Linked DNA regions of Homo sapiens: region 2 is linked to region 1. Evidence: promoter capture Hi-C in 16 types of primary human blood cells and fetal thymus (Javierre and others, 2016). All regions are on one chromosome and are shown on one strand. The core of a region is centred on a gene start or on the middle of the fragment in contact, and the rest is flanking DNA. Distances in the headings are between cores, read along the strand shown.

What was found. Contacts are between HindIII fragments. The CHiCAGO score rates a contact against its expected background, and 5 or more counts as called.
Region 2: a contact is called between a fragment that was not itself captured here and the fragment with the promoter of SETBP1-DT in region 1, in 1 of 17 cell types (total B cells). The highest score is 5.9, in total B cells.

What each region holds. Positions count from the first base shown.
Region 1 is chr18:44,677,963-44,684,970 of GRCh38, forward strand. SETBP1-DT (SETBP1 divergent transcript) reads right to left here and starts at 1,910. Exons shown (of 2, transcript NR_187430.2): 1 at 1,654-1,910; 2 at 1-927. SETBP1 (SET binding protein 1) reads left to right here and starts at 2,926. Exons shown (of 6, transcript NM_015559.3): 1 at 2,926-3,059. RefSeq lists silencers at 1,051-1,690, 2,361-2,610, 2,751-2,800 and enhancers at 4,672-4,741, 4,852-4,921, 4,972-5,061. The HindIII fragment of the contact is 7,071 bases long and covers 1-2,725 here.
Region 2 is chr18:44,952,643-44,959,132 of GRCh38, forward strand. SETBP1 (SET binding protein 1) reads left to right here. Exons shown (of 6, transcript NM_015559.3): 4 at 1-698. Among named protein-coding and RNA genes, the nearest start is that of MIR4319, 14 kb to the right of the region's middle. The HindIII fragment of the contact is 5,628 bases long and covers 358-5,985 here.

The sequences.
Region 1 (7,008 bases), core at 660-3,159:
TTAGTTCTCTGTGGACTTTGGTGTAGGATTTCAGAAATCTGGGTGTACAAGCAAATGAGAAAGGTCATTTGATTACAGAGAATAGTTGTTTTGATATTGTATTCTGTGCCTTGATCTCTACTTCTATCATCAGCTCATATGCTCTGCTATTTTTTTTCCTAACTAAGCATTATTTTCTCAGCAATAACAATGACGCGGTAAAAAAGCATAGTAGAAGACCTATCGAAAATTGCTCCACGGGAGGTCCTGCAGTGACAGAAGAAAAGTTTGTAGCCAGTCAGAACATTCCTCTGAAAAAAAGAGGACAGAGCACTTGGATCAGTAAAAGGGTGAACTATCCGTTCTGAGTCAGACTGAATCTGCATCCAGACAGGAATCGGGATGGGATTGGGGCTGGAAGGGGTTCACCCTTCAATCCCCAGTCTCTTTCACTCCACTTCACTGCAGCGTTCCTATGAAAAACTTGACGAAGAAGTTCTGTGAAGGAACTCAAACCAGCAGCCAATGCAGGGAGGCAGCCACTGATGGCCTCAGTGAGGGAATGCCCCCGACGTACCTCCAAATCATTCCTCAGTCCAAATAGCCTAAAACTCTCATGAAGAACGTGATAGGAGTCCTCTCAGAATCCGAGTCCTCGGTCAACTTTACCCCAAGTTCTTTGAGCGGAACCATTTGCAGACCTTCCCGAATCCGTATCTATCCTATATTGTTTTACAATGTAGACATGTCTCTGAAGGGTTCCATTCGTGTTTCCCTGAAAAGACCCCCTTTGTAGGCCAAATACAAAAACTCAGAGATTACAAATGCCACCATATTTTGTAAGAACTGAAGACATTCCACTTTGTTCTTCCCACCCTGAAAACAACTGCATGCCAGTCTGCGTTTGTCATCTCTCCGTGTCCTTCCCTTCATCAAGTGTCCAATTCTCTTGAATAACGAGAAAATGCACATGAGATCTGAATGCATACAAGTCGCTTAACAACAACAATAAAATAATAATAATAATTTAAAAAAACCCTGAAAGTGAAATATAATTACCAGGTTAAAAAAAAAATGCGCCCAGTTTCGAGAGCCTATCACAGCTCACGTCTGGGCGCGCAGTACCCCCCCGACACTGCTCCTGTTGTGTCAGATAGTGGCAGTGTTGAGCCCAGGAATACGCGCGGAGCCCGCGGCGATCCCCGCGGCCGCTCAGTCTTCGCGGCGGACTCCGGCGCGCAGGAGCCACTGGGCCGCAAGGGCGCCGGGGAGCGGGAGGGGCGCTGGGGGCGGCAAGGGGTCCCAGATCCCAGGCCACGAACTGTTTTCCTTTTCCCCGGGCAAGAGCCCCGCTCCCTTCAACTGACAGAAATTCACTGGGGCAGGGGGGCGAGTGGGGAGAGAGGTCGCTCAGGGCTCGCTACTGGCTGCGCCTCCCCCGGCTCTGGTCTGGGAAGCGGCTCTGGGCCCTCCGGGCGAGCAGCTTGGGCGCCGGCGCCCCCTGCGAGGAAGATCGCGGGGTGACGGTCGGTACCCGTTCGGCTGGGCCGCGCTGCCGCTCCGATCCACCTCCCTTCCGCGCCCGCGCCCTCCCCCTTCCTTTCACTAGGAGTCCGGGATTCGGAGAGGGCGCGGGAGGCAGGCACACGGGCCCGACCCCACTCCAGCGCTCACCGGGGACGCGGGCGGGCGGCGACGGGACGCGGCGGGGGCGCGGGGCGGGCGCGGCCATGGAGCAGCAGCGGCGGCGGCGGCGGCGGCGGCGGCAACACTAGCGACCGCGGGCGGACGAGCGGGCGGGCAGGGCCGCCGGGCTCAGCGGACCGAACTGCACAGCTCAGCAAAAGCGCCCTCGCCCTCCGCGCGCCGCCTCCTGCGAGCCCAAACCCACCAACATTTTTTAACGCTCCAACCCATCCTTTGAAGAAAAGCAAAAAAAAAAAAAAAAAAAAAAAAAAAAGCAAAAAAAGAAAAAGCATTGATCGGAGAGACGGGGATATATATATATATATATATATATATATATATATAAAATTTTTTTTGGCTCCTGCTAAAATTAGCAGGGCTCGCCGCGCGCCTGTGTGCCAGTGTGTGCGAGTGTGTGTGCGTGCGGGCGTGTGTGTGTGAATGTGATTACTCCAGGACTCCTCGGGCTCCGGAGACGCCATTTTCCCCCTTGATATCTCTCTCCATAAATCGGTGGCGCGGCGGAGGCGGCAGAGTCGGGCGGGAAGCGCGGGGCCGGCCGGGGCGCCCGCCGCTCGCCGCCGCCTCCGCGCGCCCGGGGGCCCCGGCGCCCCCCGAGCTAGGGCGGCCAGCTCGCGGCTCGCCGTTTGACAGATGCTCATCGCCATGGAGTTGCCGCAGCAGCACCTTTGGGGGCTCGGGCGAGCGACGGGAGCCGGGATCTGAGCGAGCGCCGGGGCCAGCGGAGCCGGAGCCGCCGGGACATGGGTGAGCACGCGCGGCGACCTTGGCCCGGGAGCCCGGGCGCCCAGCCTCCCTCCGCGCCGCGGGCCCCCGCACTCCCGGAACCGGGGGCGACGTGTGTGCCCTGCATGCAAAAGTTCACGTCGCCTTGCTGGGTCTTTGACTTTGCACCCGGCGGGAAGGGGGAGACCGGGCCGAGGGGGCGGGATGCCGGTCCGGGCGAGGTTGCAGGAGATGGGCGCGATTCCGGCGGGCCGGCGGGTGGGCGGCGATGCTGGCTCAATTGGAGTGGCTCGTTGGTGGCGGCGATGGTGGAAGCTTTGGGCTGGAGGGCTGGGAGCTTATTGAGTTTCGCCTAATCTGATCTACCCCCCCTCCGCCCCCCGCCTTTTGCACCCTCCCTCGGTCCTGCAGCCGGCTGGCGGGGCTGGCGGGTTTGGCGTTGGTGGAGTGGACTCGGGAGGGGGAGGGGGTAAGGAAAGGGGTGGGAAGGCAGGATTTTTTTTTTCTCTCTTTGTAACTTGCAGGTTAAGTGGAGCTAGAGAGCTACATTGTAACCTAGTTGGATTTTTTTGGGGGGGGAATGTATCAGAATCTAACGTGTCGTTAATAGAAAGAAGAACAGGCAAGAAGTGGTCCAGCCGGCGAAGGTTGGTGTGTGCTTGTGTTGTGCCTGTGTGTTAGTCTTTTTCTTAAAAATCTTAATCAATGGATTTGAGTCTCTTTCTTGTGCTCTCTGGTTTTGGGACTCTGAAAAGATAGGAATTCCCTTAAAAGCAGACGAATGCCTTTTTGAAAGCACGCATTGTGTGCGTTTCTAGAGGAGCCGTGGGCTTGGGAATGAACGGCAGGCTTCCCCGTTCGGTGGTTTCCAGTGGGAAATCACTCCGGAAAGGGAACCCTTCGGTATCGATTTATTGTTTTTGTCTTCCAAACCATTATCTCTTTGACCGAAATACTGTCTGAGAAGTTCCGCAGGGACAAAGTCAGGTAAACTGGACCGGGCAGATCTTTGGCAAGATGGTGATAACGGGGATGCTGTTTTCAGTGTCTGTTTGTGATGGAAGCATTGTTGGGTAATAGCAATTTCTGATCGGTAGAGCATGCTGGTTCTAAAAAAATAAGTTAACTGCCGAAATACTGTCTTCCAGCCCCCCTCCCCTGCACAGTACAGCACCTATTCCCCCCGCCCCCCCATCCAGACCGCTTACTACAAGTCTGAAATCGGATCCAACTGGAAATATTTTCATTGGAGATTGAAAGTTGTGCAATTGGAAATAGATGAGGCTAGAGGTATTGAGAGTGTGGAAGGGGAGTTCTTATTGCCCCCTAATGCTGCATTTATTCTTTATGTGTGTCTGTGTTGGATTCTCAGGGTGTGTATCTGTCTAAAAGGACTGTTGTGGGAAGGATTTCCGATTCGTTTCCGTTTCAAATAAACTGTCCTGATAATCTCACGGTTGACATCTAACGCTAAAAGGGCAATTTGTGTGTCTCTTTATCCCTGCAGAAACTCTCCTCCAAAAGGGCAGTTTATTCTGGAATTCTACAGCAGATACCTTTCCCTTCCAGCCCCTACACTCCCCCCACCTCCTGCCAACTATCCACACCTTTCCCCTTAAAGTTTAGTTGGAGTCCACTGGCGTTGATTGTTTTTCTCTTACATCTTTTTCCTTCTTTTTCTTTTCATTCCTTCACTCTTCATCCTGTTTTTCTTCTTTTTCTGTAGATTTATACTAAAAACTAATTTCTTGAAGTCTCTGTACTGTCACCAAAACTATCTGCCGATTTGGCACCATCTCTTACCCTCCTTTAGTAAATAGGTATATCTCCTGTGCCCCATCCAAACTCATCTTCACGTGCAAAGCATGTGTGTGTCGTGGGAGAAAGGGGATGGGGTAGAGAAGAGGTATTTGGAGAGGAAGGGCGGTGTTGTGTGCAGGCCACATCTTCAACACTGGACCAGACCTGGGCATTCCGGGGAGAGTTTCCTTTGCACACCCCAGCTGGGATGGGAAGGCGGAGCCAACCAGACAGGGGCGTGTGAGGGAGGAGAAAGTTTGTAGCACTTTAAGATGTAGCTAGTTTACCATCCCAGGTCACTCCCTCCCTTTTTTTCTGATTTCTCTGGCTTCTACCATCCTTAAACTCCCTGAGGGAGGCGTGAGCTCTTTTGCTCTGACGAGGGATTCCCAGGTGTCAGAGTGAAGGTGAGGTGCTGTGTTTTCCCCTGTGCTTAGTCTCATTGCCTGTTCCCAGAAAAGGGTATTAAGACAGAGTGTTTGGGGGAAAGTCGGAAGAGGAGGAAGAAATCAAGTGTGGTTAAACAGAGTATTTGCAAACGGCAGGGAATGTAGCCCCCAAAGATATGGAGACCAGGTACCCAGAGTGTTGCTTGGCACACGATTTCTCCTCCCCCGTTAAGGGGACAAAACCAAAACCAAAACAAACTATTGGTCTTGGGAAGTTGAGTTGGTGTTAGACCTGGGCTGTGGGAGTTGCTAGCCACTATAGTAACCTGAGCTGAGCTGGGGGAGGAGGTGGTGAGCGAATGCACCACCGGGAGCCAGAGGAGGGAAAGGGACTCGTCTCTCTTAGCTGGGAAAATAGATGTATCTCTGGAATAAACAAACTGGAGGTGGGGGAGGGGATGGCTTGCAGTGAACATAAGGTGGAGTGTCTGAGAGGCAGTAGTGTCGGTTAAGAAGGGGGCCACTTCTAGCTTGGGAGAAAATATCAACTGCCTTATATGTTCATGAAAGGGCTAGGCAAGTGAAGGGCTGTAATTTGATCTTTTGTATGTTAGCATCAGAATGTTACATAGGAAGGCTCTGCTGGAAGGCCCAGTTTTGGACATCACACAGGGGAACCTAGAGGTATCTTTAAGTTAACCCAACAGCCCCTGCTGCCATAAGGGCTTCTGGTCATGGACTTGCCTTGCTCAGAGTGAGCTACTTTGTAAATCACCTGACCTAAATGAGGGTTGGGGAAAAAGGAAACAGTGCTTGGGAGTGTTTTAGGATTTAGTTGAAAATGGTGAGTGGGGAGAGGCAGGAGGCAGGATTTTGCTGAAGAAGAAATAAATAGGTAGGTACTTTCCCCTGGATTCCATTTCTCCTGTTAACTTTGAATTCCTCTAGGGGATGAATCGATACTTGTCTGGCACAAAAGTGTACCTCTAGGAGAGGAGAGTTCTCTCAATGTGGTCATTATTTTTAGTTGTACTTCAATCTCTGCTCCAAAGCTTCTATATAGTATGCAAAAGGAAGCAGATGAGAAATAGCTAGCTGGATGGGGCATCCTTTCTGGGTTCCTGTGGAGACACTGAAACTTGGCTGGGCCTGGACCTCCCAGAATGCCAGTTTTTTCCTTGGAGACTTGAAGTTTAAATTGAAACCAGAAAGCTATTGAAGGCAGATCCAGCCAATGAAACCCTGTTTTCTCTGATGCTCAGGAATGGGAAATAAATAACTTTTTGCTGATGGCATTTCAAGTTGCTTCAGTTTTGCTCCTGCCAGAAGAATGGGGCAAATTATTATGAACACATTAGTATTGTAAGGAGGAGTTGCAGTGCTTTAAAAATGGGATGGTGTTATTGAGTTTGTTCAGGGACTCAGTGTATGTGAGAGTCCTACCAGAGGCTGGTGGTGGGAGCACAGGAGGCTGCCCTGGAGGGTTAGCAGCACTGGGTTGAAGAAAGGAAGCCTCACAGAGGTCTTGCTGCACATCATTTTGTCTGGTCCTGGGGTTCCTGTGAAGGGAGCAAAACAATCCAATTCCATTCCTATCCTGTGGCATATGTTGAAACCTAGTGAGTTTCCCAAAATGTTTTGGGCCATAAGTTTGGGCTTCTTTTAGAGTGGTTTTTAAAGGCAACCCAGGTGTTTTACAAACTCTTCATGAAGTTGCACATACTTTGGCCTGCCATATACCTGAAAAGTGCAGGAAAGAAAACACCAGGATGTCCACAGACTATAATTCGTGAATGCAGAAAGATGATGCCAATCTACATTTTTGCTTAGCTCTGAGTTTTCGTTTTCCCTTTTTACCGAACTTTCTATTAGATTTTGATGCCCCCCTGAGATACATCACACTGGGGCTGGAGAAGGTTTTGGAGGACTGTAATTGTAGATCACTGAGTTGAAGCTTCTGGTCCTTACTGTTCTGATTTAGAAGTTTCGTAGGTTCAGTCCAGAACAGCTGTTTTTAGAAGGTTTTTTTTTTTTTTTTGCCCATTAGAGGGTACCATCTAAGGTTGAAGAACCATTAAATAATTAATTAATTAATTTTTTGTGACAGAGTCTCGCTCTTGTTGCCCAGGCTGGAGTGCAGTGGCGTGATCTTGGCTCACTGCAACCTCTGCCTCCTGGGTTCAAGTGATTCTCCTGCCTCAGCCTCCCAAATAGCTGGGATTACAGGCACCCACCACCATGCCTGGCTAATTTTTGTATTTTTAGTAGAGACGGGGTTTCACCATGTTGGCCAGGCTGCTCTTGAACTCCGGACATCAGGTGATCCACCTGTCTCAGCCTCCCAAAGTGGTGGGATTACAGGTGTGGGCCACCGCGCCCGACCGAGGAACCATTATTTTTTAATGGC
Region 2 (6,490 bases), core at 1,922-4,421, 280 kb after region 1:
AAAGATGTCCGGTGCAGCTAAGCATAAAGCCAAGCATGGAGTACACCTGCAGGGACCTGTTAGCATGGGCCTTGGTGACATGCAGCCTTCTCTGAACCCTCCCAAGGTAGGCAGTGCCAGTCTGTCCAGTGGTCGGCTCCATAAGAGGAAACACAAACACAAGCATAAGCACAAGGAAGACCGGATCCTAGGGACCCATGACAACCTGAGTGGTCTTTTTGCAGGCAAAGCCACAGGCTTCTCCAGCCACATCCTGAGCGAGCGGCTGAGTAGCGCAGACAAAGAGCTCCCGCTGGTGAGTGAGAAGAACAAGCATAAGGAGAAACAGAAGCACCAGCACAGCGAAGCCGGCCACAAAGCTTCTAAGAACAACTTTGAGGTGGACACCCTGTCTACACTGTCACTTTCCGACGCCCAGCATTGGACACAGGCCAAGGAAAAAGGAGACTTGAGCAGTGAGCCTGTGGACTCATGCACGAAAAGATACTCTGGCAGTGGCGGGGATGGTGGCAGCACGAGATCAGAGAACCTGGACGTGTTCAGTGAAATGAACCCTTCGAATGACAAGTGGGACAGTGACGTGAGTGGGAGTAAAAGGAGGAGCTATGAAGGCTTTGGAACGTACAGGGAAAAGGACATCCAAGCCTTCAAGATGAACCGCAAGGAGAGAAGTTCTTATGACTCCTCCATGTCTCCAGGTAAGGCTGTTTTTCTTCAGAAATGGATTATCAAGTTATTTCATTGCTGGGCTTTGCACCTCAGACACATCTGTGGCACATTGTGTTCACTAGTTTGCAAAGAGGTGGGAATCAAATTAAAATGGGTCTCCTTGCACATTTGAGTTTGCTGCACATTTTGTACATTGTTTACTTGGTATTTACTATCTTCCTTCTCTCCTGGAGCCATTGTTTGAGAAACTGTGAAGCCATAACCCTAATAGCTGCCTAGGCTGCAGTCGTGCCCACTATGGTTATGCTTTTTATTAAAGATGCTGTTCTTAGGTCCTCATCTGATCTAATGGTACAGTTTGCTGTTTGGATACAGCCTCTAAAACTCATTAGGAATACTAATAAGATCCAAGAATGCCAAGCCTGGGAGGAAATGACTAGCTAATTTATCTGGCATGCCAGCTCCACAAGTCACACATCTAATGTGAGAAGTCTACTGCAGAGCCATTAGAAGCTGATGACCAGTGAATCCTGAAGTCTAACTCATCAGGTAGCCACAGCCTTGGGCCATATTGTTTCCATTTTTTTTCCATGGGCATTTGATAAGCTGTCCTGGGCAGGTCCCTAAAATGAAAACTTGACTACATTCAGATACTTGTCATTTTCGTGCACTAAGTGGAAGGAGGCAGGCTGGAAGGTGATATGTGCCTCCTGCTTCCAGCAGACCTTATAACTGTGTCTCTTTGCATGCCCACTAGAAAGGGATTTTGCTCACTAATTTAAACTGAAATGCTGGTTGCTACTAGAAGGATCCTATTCCTTGTCAGTTGCTGGCAGAATTCCCTTGCCAACCTCCCCAACCACACAAAATCCTTCCCTGCTGTTAGGGCCTCACATTTCTGCAAAAGTATCCCTTTGACCCTGGCCTTACATCATATATGATAAGACCCCTATAAAGACCAGAGAAGTTAGTTATTAGGAAAATAGTAGAAACTTCTTACCTAGGAGTTGCAGAAGCTAAAAAAAAAAAAAAAAAAAAAAAAACAGTTCTTGTGTTCCCCCTGTTCCCAAATAGTATAAAACCCTCCAGCCAAAGCCTGGCTTTAAAAACCAATCATCCATGTTTAAGGTTTGGTGTAGCATTTCACTTCTGTTTATGATGTGTACCACTCACCTGTCCTCTCCCTTCCCAGGGAGCCCATATTTCCTGAAGGCAAGAATAGTCTATTCATGAAGAATTAGAGACATTTTCTAGGCCAGCAGATTTCAGGAAGAAATATGATTATGAGGTAGAAACCACTTAAAGATCGCCCCAGATTGCCACTAGCCTGTGAGTTGTAGTGGTAGATGTTCTCCTTGGTTAATGAAGAAACCAATTAGCAGTCACATCTCCTGCATTTACTAAAGGTAATAAATGACCTACACTTTGTGTCTGCCCAAAGTGGATGTGCTCATCTGGGCTTCATCATTTCTCATCATCAGACTTTGTTGAAGGTGCTTGGTTTTATGCAGAGTGCAGGCTAAGCCCACCTGGGCAGGAGGTACTACCTTGACCTTGCATGACATGTGAGAAACTGATCTCTTTCAGCATGATGAAACTGATTCATGGGACTTACACTAGCTGTGGACAGAAGATGTTCTTATTTTTGTAATTTTATGAGCCTTATTTAGCTAGAAAATAATGGTGAGGGGTAATTGTTAAGAACCTACACGCAAAAATCCTAACTTAACAGACCCAAGGAGCAAGACCTCAAGAAGCTAAAACCAGACGTTGTTGCATGTTAGGTTTCTCAACGATTTTACGAGGATTTGTCTGTGGCCAGGCTGTGTTGCTGAGTGCTGGTTGACTTCATAAAATTTCCCAGCTGGGGTTCACGTCCAGTCACTGTGTGCCCCCACTCTAGTTATATTGCTTTTCATGTGCTTGCATTTATATCGCATTCATCACTTTATTAAAACTCCTCCTCATCCCTGTCCCATCTCATCTCATCTTCAGCCAGCCACTTGAGATGGGAAGAAATAGGTGTCATGACAATGTCATGAAAGAAAGCTGGATTCAACCCGAAGAACTGGATACAAGGCCCAACTCTGTTACTAATTCTCCGTGTGCCCTTAGGCATGGGATTCCACTTCTTTGGGGTACTGTCTGCCCATCTGTAACTCATGGGGTTGGGCCAGACCTCTTGTGTATAGTGTGCTTCCATTCTTAAAGCCATTTCACATAAATTTTTGTGTAACACCCTTTGTGCAATGTTATTAGACAGGTACTTTTATTCCTATATTACAGATCAGGATACTGAGGCTCAAAGAGATCAAGAGAACTGTCCAGGTTCAAAAAACCACTGGTTTTGATTCTAAGCCCAGAACTTTGCCTGCTGCACTGAACCTTGACTGCCTGCCTGCCACCAAGCTAGTGAAAGCTGTGTTTAGAACACAGCTCTTGGTGCCCAGTCCAGTGCTCCTCTATGTCACCTCTGCCCTTTCTTTCAGAATCCCATTCATCCTCAGATCACATACCCTTCCCTAAGGCATCTGCACAGTGATTGTGTGATGATTACAAAAGAGAATAGTTAAGGAAAGAAGACACTCGTTTATTCAATTCCTGACCAATGTAGAAGGAATCCTTGTGGCCTTACCTTTTCTGAATATCAGCCTGGAGACACCATGGACAGAGCTTCCACCTCTGTCCTTACTGAAATCCAGCACTCTGAGTTATTTTTGCCACTGCTTTGTTTCTATCTCTGTCCTCTATGAGGTTATTTTTTCCCAGAACTTTAATGAATCATAATTGTTGGTGGCTGCTACATCTATATGAGCTATGCCTGATGTTCCTGCATATCTTGTTAAGTTTCTTACTAAGACAGACCAGATTCCCCCTTATTCCCCTCCCTTCCAAGCCTTAGCCTCTCATTGCTTATATCTCGAATGTCTCCTTCATGGCTGTGCCCCCAAAGCATGAGAGAAAAATATCTTTAGCATCACATAGAATCCAGTGTCAGAGTTTGTCAAGACTCCCTGAAGAGCATTCACCTTAATGTGATAGACTCTGAAGAGTGCCAAGTTCCATGAAAAGACAGGAGGCAGATGAGATGAAGCTGAGCTTACTAGATGCATTAAGAGCTTTCAGTGACTTTATCTGAGTGGAGGTGTCTATTCAGCTGGATGGTTCTGAGGGTCATGATTGGAAATAAGCACCTGCACTTTCTACAACTTCTCTCCCTCCACCTTTTCCTTCATCACACTTGATTCATTTCCTTAGCATCCAAATGTCCTATTTCACATGAGCTATTCTTCTCTAAAATAGATACAGTATAAATATAGATGTCATCCTTTTTAGCCTGTTGAGGATGAGAATTAGAAGCAGAGTCAAGAGAAGGCTTTGAGTGCTCCCTGAGATCAGAGCTGATGAAAGATACCATCTAAACGTAAGTCATTACCATTATGGAGAGAGGAATTAGAGACCCTATTTAGCAATAGCAGCAGTTGCACACTCCATTTCCTTTTTCTTGCTTGGAAAATCTTTCATTCTTTCTCTCCCTGCCCAGCAGATGGTTGCATTGTCTTGTTAGCCCACTTCTAACATACCTAGGGCTAGGATGCAGTACAGACTTCTGACCATTTTTCTGTATTTTACGCCTCCTTTTTTTGGTTTCAGAATGCAGTAGCTCTTTTGGCCTGTTTTCTAAATGCATACCATCTGCTAAATGTCCGTTTATAAAAATGCTTGCCTGGGACCAGAAAATGGATAAATAGTGAGAAGGTGCAATCTCAGAATTGGTATAAGCCTTATCAGCTCCTATTTGGGCCTGTCTGTCGGCAGGCATTGCCTTCTCTTGCACACTAACATTTAGCAGAGGGCCAGAAGAGCAAATGCATACTCCAGGGGTGACAATGCATAGTCAGAATGATGCCATGTGCCCTCAAAGCCAAGTTTTCACAAGGTGGTGGAAGAGTGATGAGTGACATTTTCTATTCAGACCACTTGGAAACAATCTTTGCATACTTTGACCTAAACTTATGCCAGATACTGAGACCTCATGACAACTGCTGTTCAAGCTCCTATCAGATAATTAAAAAAAAAAAATGAGAAGAGTGAATCTACATGTGTTACCTCTTAGTTTAGTGCCATTGTTAAGAAGGTAGCCATCCCAAGTCCCCGAATGTTGAGTACTGTCCTCATGATGAGTGGATTCTGAGAACTGATTCTGAGAGCACATTTCAGATATCCAAATTCTGCCATGTAGGTAGCTGGATTCCCTGGCACCTGGCCCCCTCCACCTCTCCTTGTAGCTTCTTTCTTGCCCTTTGCCAACTCCTCTTATCAGCACTGTGGAAATTTGAGGAGGCAGTCTCTGCTGTCACTCACTGGCAGGATATGAATGCCCAAGCCAAAAATAATACAAAAACCTCCTCCAAGCAGTCACCCAGATGAGGGAATTAGCCACGTGGATGAAATGTCATGAAAACTATACAAAGGAAATGTTTCAGGATCATTTCCTTAAAATGGAATAAAAGGAAGAAGAGGACTAATGGGAGGAGAAAATTAAGACCAGGAATAAAGAGAGTAAAACCTGGGAAGCTGATGAAATATAATCTTTTTAACCTTATTCCAAGTCCAATTCTGAGTCCTCTTGTGGGAGGAAATGAAAGATTAATTAGCTAATGGCTGTTGTGGAGTTCAAGTAGGGTTAGGAAGACCTGTCCAAATCTTATCTCTCACACTAACCAGCTGAAAGACCTCTTCTGTTTTTTGACTTTCAGTTTTCCAAAATGGGACTATGACCATAAAGGTTCTGACCAGACCTAATAGTTGAAGATTCTAAAAGACTCAAATTTATACAATGGAATTTCAATATCTACACCACTCCCCTGCACACATGTACAGGCAGTAGTTACAAAGTAAATATCCAAGTTATTGACCATGTTGACCAAATAGTTAGTTGTTCAATGAAGTTTGAAAACAGGTACCACTGGTTGTATATTAATCTATGAGACTCATCCCATTCATCTTTAGCTCCAGCCATTTCACTTAGCCATTGGATTTCTCCTTTGCGAAAGGTAGAACTCCTAGTGCTTGAGTCCCACTGGCTGAAAACATAGTCACTATCTGAGACACAAATAGGTTAGAACACAAATATGAACATTTTTATGGGAACAGACAGGGCACACTTGGATTTGTATTTAGACTCAGCATTAAATAAATCTTAATAATGTAGTACAAACATCTCATTTTGCTGATGAGCACACTGAGGCTTAAGAAGGTCAAGTGACTCATCTAATGATACATATTTAATTGGGTGAAGAGCTCAGACTGGGAAGCTTCACATCAAGGAGAAGGGCAGGGAAAGGGAGAGAGAGAGTGAATACAAGAAAAAAACAGAAAGGTGAGTCATGGGAGAGATGTTAAGCTATATGTTTTCCTTTGCTGTGAGCTGTTGTAAAAGGTAAGCATCTCTTTGACAATCATTTGGTTTCCAGGCTATCTCTGGGGACCCATGTCTGGGACTGGAAATGATCTTTGTGGGCTCTGATGGAAGTCATTTTTTTTTCCTTTCCTGTCTTAACAATTGCACATACTTATTTTATTGAGCCTCCCAAGTTTCCTCCTAAGGTTTCCTTTTGGAAACCAAGAATTAATCAAATTAAATGATATAACCCATAACTTTGTAGCAACGTAACAAAAAAAAATAGCTGAGACTCACAGCATATCCTTTGCTACATTGAAATCAGAAATGGAGCAATTCTGCCTTTGGAGTTTGAAGTCCCCGAGCCATTTATCTTCCCACAGTTGGCAAATGTTCTCGTGTCCTGGTGAAAGTTTT